Regions from separate parts of the Homo sapiens genome. Here region 2 is linked to region 1. Evidence: promoter capture Hi-C in human tissues and cell types (Jung and others, 2019). All regions are on one chromosome and are shown on one strand. Each heading gives the region's core, a stretch centred on a gene start or on the middle of the fragment in contact. The rest is flanking DNA. Distances are from core to core; before and after follow the strand shown.

Evidence for each region. Contacts are between HindIII fragments. The study calls those that stand out against the background at their distance.
Region 2: a fragment that was not itself captured here is called in contact with the fragment with the promoter of CDH2 in region 1 in 1 of the 25 tissues and cell types used here (hippocampus).

Annotation. Positions count from the first base shown.
Region 1 is chr18:28,175,712-28,178,828 of GRCh38, forward strand. CDH2 (cadherin 2) reads right to left here and starts at 1,419. Exons shown (of 16, transcript NM_001792.5): 1 at 1,252-1,419. The coding sequence starts at 1,311. The HindIII fragment of the contact is 9,493 bases long and covers 1-3,117 here.
Region 2 is chr18:28,043,235-28,046,358 of GRCh38, forward strand. The region is part of intron 2 of CDH2 (cadherin 2); the gene reads right to left. Among named protein-coding and RNA genes, the nearest start is that of CDH2-AS1, 120 kb to the left of the region's middle. The HindIII fragment of the contact is 3,794 bases long and covers 1-3,124 here.

The DNA.
Region 1 (3,117 bases), core at 169-2,668:
GCAGGCACTTCCGAGCTGCGTCCGCACTTTTCGGGGCTGCCAGCTGGCAGTAGAGCACCTCTCCCCTTGCCCCGAGGGCGACAGGCAGGGGGACCCTCCGTGGATTTTCCTGCCCCGCGGCGAGGGTGGGCACGCCCCTTTCCCGCAACCTTCGAGGGACCCCACGGCAGGCGGAGACCGACTTGGGACCAGGGCACTGCACCCGCCCAGCTAGAGGGTCCCGGCCGAGGCTGTGTGAAGTGGCCTCCAGGCCTGGGCTGGCTGGTCGGGAGGAGCCTGGGGGCATCCTCGGGTTGGAGGCGGCGGAAAGTTGGGCTGCCCCCGGGCTGGGAACCCGCAGCGTGCAGTGGCGAGGGAACCTGCGCCCGGACTGGAGCAGGTGCTTCCTGCCGCGGAGGAGCCTCTTAGTAGAGATTAAATGAAAAGGCTCGCTGGCTCTCTCCCGAGGGTATGAAAAGTACGGAAGGCTCCAGGCAAAGGCGCCCCCGGGGCGCATATAGGGCACAGGCAGCCGGACAGAGAAAGGAGCAGCCGCGTAACGGAACTTCTCGCCCGGGGGAGATACTAGGCGTGAGAGGCCAGACTCGTTCTACAGGCAGGCGCTGACCGGCAGAGACTCCTCCGGGCAAGAGGGCCAGATTTTCTTTCCAGGTGGGACGAACACAGAATATTGTGAGGGCAAGAGAAGAAGAAAAGGAGGCAACTCCAGACTGGGATAAAGACAATAGGACAGTAGAGCCCTTGAGCACCGGGAGGCGCACGGGTGCAGGGTGGGGTAAGGTGGAGGCAAGTCCCGTAACTAAGACACCAGAGTGAGAATTCCTACTGTAAACTCGCGACCCATCCCTGCAGAAATAAACAAAAAAATTGGAGCAAAGTACTATGCGAGGGGCGAAAGGCACAGAAAACTGCAAAACCTGGGAGTTATCCTGCCTCACCCTCCTGCTGCCTGGGGACACCCCCCGCGAGCTTGCTCGGCCCCGAAGAAGGAGCAGAGGGGACCCGCAATCCAGCCCCTAGAGCCCCGCCAGGAAAGGCGCGAGAGACCTACTGGCCCCGGCAACCCTGCCCCGGCGCCCGGACGGAGCCCGATGCCTGCGCAGCTACCGGCCGCGCGGCGCGGCGCGGCGCGGCGTGGCACCTCCCTTCCCGGGTGCGCAGCCCGGCCCCGCAGCGGCGCGGGGAACAAAGGGACCCGGCGCCGCCCGCCCCACCCCGCCCGTGGCCCGGCCCGCGGGGACCGCCGCGTACCTGAAGCAGGGCCGCCAGCAGCGGCAGCAGGGTCCGCAGCGCTCCCGCTATCCGGCACATGGAGGCGGAGAGGGGCCGAGCGAAGAGCCGGAGGAGGCGGCGGCGGCGGCGGCGGCGGCGGAGGAGGAGGAGGCAGCGGCAGCACCAACAGCGGCGCGGAGAAACGGCTCCAGGCAGTTTCCACCCCCTTCCCTTCCCCTCCCCTCCCCACCCCCTTCTTCGCTGCTCTCCGCTCCCCGCCAATGGAGAGCGAGCTGATGACAAATAGCGGGCCGCGGAGTCCGCGGGACTCGCACCAGGAGTAATAAAACAGACCCAGAGATCAAGGAGCTGGGGAGGGGGCGGGGGAACAGGGAGGGAGAGCGTGTGAGCGTCTGCGAGTGTGTGGAGGCGGCTGCTGTGGCAGCGCAGGCGGCTCGGCTCCGGCCCGGAGCGCAGCGGAAGCCGCGAGGGATGCAGCGGCGGGGACCTTGGCCGGTGGAGGATGTGGAGGTGGAAGTGGAGCGGATGGCGCTCCCCAAGAGCTCCGCCACGCGAGGTTTCGGGCTCGTGGTTTTGCTTCCTCCGGGTCCCCGCTCCAGGGCCGCTCGGCGCGACGAAGACGCCGGGGACAGCGCCGCGGGGAGGGCGCTCCGGGTCGTGCGTGCTGCACCCACAAAGAGCAGCAGTCCCGCCACTCCGCGCCTCCGCTGCGTGGGGGCCGAGGGGCGCTTCTCGGCTCCTCTTTCCGGTCCCCCGGCGAGTTGGAGACTGTTCTCCGGCCTCGGCCGCAAGGGGGTGAGGCGAGGGGCCGGCGCGGTCTCTCCCGCCGCGGCTCCGTCCCGCGCAGCTGCTGCCGCAGCCGCCCCTGCTGCCCGCGCACCGGCACCCGCCCGCCGGTCCTCGCCCTGCGCCGCTCACTCGCGCGCGCCGCCCTCCGTCGCCGACCGCGCACCCCGCTCGGCCTCCGCTGCGCGACCTGGGCGAGCCGCCGCCGCTCTCCCCGCGCTCGCCCCACGCGCTGCCTGGCTGCGCGGCCCGCTCCCCTCTCCTATTCCTCCCGCCGCCGCCGCCGCCCTCGCCCCCGCCTCCCTCCTCCGCCGAGCCTCCCCGCCCGCGTCGTGGCCAATCGGAGGCCACCAAGCTGCGGCTGTAGCCGGCCGGATCCGCGGCAGCCGCCCGCCCCCGCCCCGCCGAAGCGCCCCGTATTTTGCTGCAGCCCGCGGGGGGTCGCCGGAGGGAAGCCTAGAGTGCGCCGAGCACCGCCCCGGCAGGTGGAGGGGCTGCGGGAAATAAAATAACTTGGGCAGGAACTTGATTGGTAGCAGGTTCATCTTTGGTCCGCGGTAGGGAATCTAATGGAGATGAAGAATGGTGGGGAAGGGGGGGCGGTGTCTCCTTGGGAGCCTAACGTACGCTTCTTTATTTTGTCATTCTTTGGAGATGGGTAATCTTTCCTGGCAGGGGCAGACACAGCAAACTAAGGACGCAGGCCAAGCTCATCCTAGCTATTGTTGTCTGAGGCGCTCGCCGGGAGCCACCTGCGGGCGGGGGAGGGCGGAGGCCGCGGCTCCTCTCTGGAGCTCGCACCTTCAGCTCCCACCCTTGAGGATGTACTGGAACAGCCCAAGTTTTTGTGTTCTTGTTTTGTTTTCTTTTGTCCCCTCTGGGAGTTTGAGAGTGCATGTTTGTTATTTTATTTGAAATCTCCCGTTTTCTATTTCTATTACTACCTGTTAGTGGTACTGTTCACATTTGGGGCCAACAGTTTCAGGGTACTTTTACCCTCTCCTACCACCCCTAACAACAATTTTTAAAAAAGAGAGAAACTAAAAGCCGGAACTTGAGAAAATAGGATTATATAAAAGATAAAATGACTGATACAGA
Region 2 (3,124 bases), core at 115-2,614, 130 kb before region 1:
GGGAGCTAAGCTATGAGGATACAAAGGCATAAGAATAATATTAATATAATGGACTTTGGGGACTCACGGGGAAGGGTGGGAGGCGGGTGAAGGATAAAAGGTTACACACTGGGTACAGTGTACACTGCTTGGGTGACAGGTACACCAAAATCTCAGAAATCACTACTAAAGAACTTATCCATATAACCAAAAACCACCTGTACCCTAAAAATTACTGATATAAATAAATATATATATATATATATATATATATATATATAAATATATATATATATATATATAAACAGGTTTGATTTGAAGTAGTTGATGGGGACTTATGAGCTTTAAGGACACTTAAACTAGACCCCTAGTGGCTGATGGCACTGAGTTTTCTTCCATTACATCTAATTTCACTCCAAACTTTATGGTTTTTCCTCTTGAAATAAATTCCCCACCAGCACTATTCTTATTATCATCCTCTTTGAAAAGTCTCATTCTGAGTTAACAAGTAAAGAAAGAAGAAAATGATTTTCTAAGGTCAAGAGTTGAACAAAAGACCTAAAGGAGCTGGAGATGTTGTGTTACAAGTGAATGATCACAGCAGACTGCTTTAGCTGTGAGTGGCCATCCTCAGGCTGGGCCACTCATCTCAGTCTCATCTTTCTCAGAATCTCGGATTTTTTTTTTTTTTTTTTTTTTTTTTTTTTTTTGGAGACAGAGTACTTCTCTTGCTCTGTCACTCAGGCTACAGTGCAGTGGCATGATCTCAGCTCACTGCAACCTCTGCCTCCCGGGTTCAAGCGATTCTCCTGCCTCAGCCTCCTGAGTAGCTGGGATTACAGGCACCTGCCACCACGCCCAGCTGATTTTTATATTTTTAGTAGAGATAGGTTTTCACCATGTTGGCCAGGCTGGTCTTTAACTCCTGATCTCAAGTGATCCACCCGCCTCAGCCTCCCAGAGTGTCAGGATTACAGGCATGGGCCACCACGCCCTGCTAGCCTCTTGGACATTTGAACAGAGGTAAATAAAGACAAGAACCAGTTGGCAGCTGCGCTAATTTGCTGGCTGTACCCTGGAGGTGGAATTCTAGAAACTGTTCACATTTTGCCTGTTAACCCCTTACATTGTTTCTCCAAGGTTTTCCTGGTATATTCTTCCAGTAAACAATTCCTTTTGCTTAAACTGGGTTCTGTTACTTCCATCCAAAAGAATACTATCACACCCCCTCCCACTGATCCATTCCCCTTTTCTATTCATCTTGCTAAAAACTTTCAATGCTTCCTACTGTCAATAAGATAAAATTAAGACTATAAATATTCCAATATTCTCTGTTATGACACTTCTATAGGCTTTCAAATCCAGGCCTATCTACTCAATGACATGCGAAGTGCATACATGCCTTGCTTCCCATTCTAAAACACTATTAAAAATAATAATGGAAAACACAGTGAACATTATTTTAACAGTATGTTTGGGTTCAATGGTTCAATGATGGGCCTGCTAATTATTAGATGTGGAAGCTTGCACATGTTTTCAACTTCTCTAAGCCTTAGTTACTTGTCAAAAAAAAAATGAAGATAATATCTTGTTCCTAGAATTATACTGAAGATTTTAAAAAGATAATATATAACATCGTGTGTGTGTGTGTGTGTGTGTGTGTGTGTAAACAGGTCCTGGCACATAGAATGTTTTCTATAAATGAGATTCATTATATTTCATTATGACTTAAATTCATTATCTCTATCCCAGAACTTTCTTGCTATTCAGAGCAATAGATCTAAGTAGCTACATGAAATTTTCAGGTAGATAGACCTCAAATTCCAAATTCAAAAAGAAAAATTAACACCCACATTCCTCTGAGCCTGGGTTCTCCTACACCGCTCACCATCTACCAGTACCTCAGCCGTTAAGTATGATAATCTTATAGTTCTTCCTCATCCAACTGGTCTTCAAGCCCTCTAGACTTTACCTCTAAGGATAAAGGTTATATCCTCTCCACTTCTCCCAGGCACATAGATTCTCTAAACCTCTTATGAGGCCTCTAGTAATAGCTTCCTAACTGAGCTAGTTTGTCCTTGTTGTACTCACCAAATTTACCCTCCCAACAGCTGATGAATAAGTCTTTGTAAAACCCAAAGCTTATCAGGTTTAAACTTATAAATAGCTCTCCATTGATTAGAAAAGAAAGACCTACTCCTTTGAGTGTTACACATGTCCTTCAACAATGTGGCCACAGCCTAAAAGTCAATTCTCTCATCATGGTCTTGTAAATGAACTTCATTTCCATTGTATTCAATTGCTTACAGTTTCTGGAACACATCCAACTGTTTCAGGCTTCTGCCTTGCTCATGCTAGCCTATCTGAGTGGAACACTCTTACTTAAGCACCTGGGCCAGTGGCTACTCATCTTTTAAGGGTCATTTCCTTTATGACGTCCCAGCAGACAAAGCCCTCCCCCACATGTGTGCTTCAACTGTACTCTTTAAATGCTTCCATCACAGCACTCAAAGCTGAATTTCACATGCCTGTTTACATATTTTCCCAAACCGAAGCTTCCTTTAGAAGCTCTGGTGCTCAGCTCAGAGCCCGGCACAAAACAGGCTCTTGAGATCTGCCTGCTGAATGAATAAAGGTAGAAAGCAGAAAAAGACAACTGAGAGAACTGAATAATTAACAGTAAAGTTCAGGTTATTTTCTGGAGTCTGTAGACATTCAGCTCAGTGACTATCACTGGACCGACAATGATACTGAATACAGTAACTGTTCATCTTTATGATTTCTGCTCATTAAGAAAACACTCCATCAGAGTTGTGCAGGATGCCTTATTTAAGGTAGTCAAGTATGTGATAAAGCTGATGCATCATTCCAAAGGGGGCTGAGTCAAGCATTCCTTTCTATAAGATGGCGTTTGACCCTTAAATGACAATTTGAGAAACAGAAAGGCTTCACAGTCTAAATAATTTAAATACGGTGCATTACAGAGCAGCACCAGAAAAAAAGCTATTGTTATCTAGTACTTTGTGATCTTCTCCTTTATTATTAGGAAATGTAGGCACTTCAATACATTTACACATAACTTCCTTAGTAGGTAACTAAACTTTTAGAAAAAATCTGGAGGATAAGAATATATTGGAAGAATATT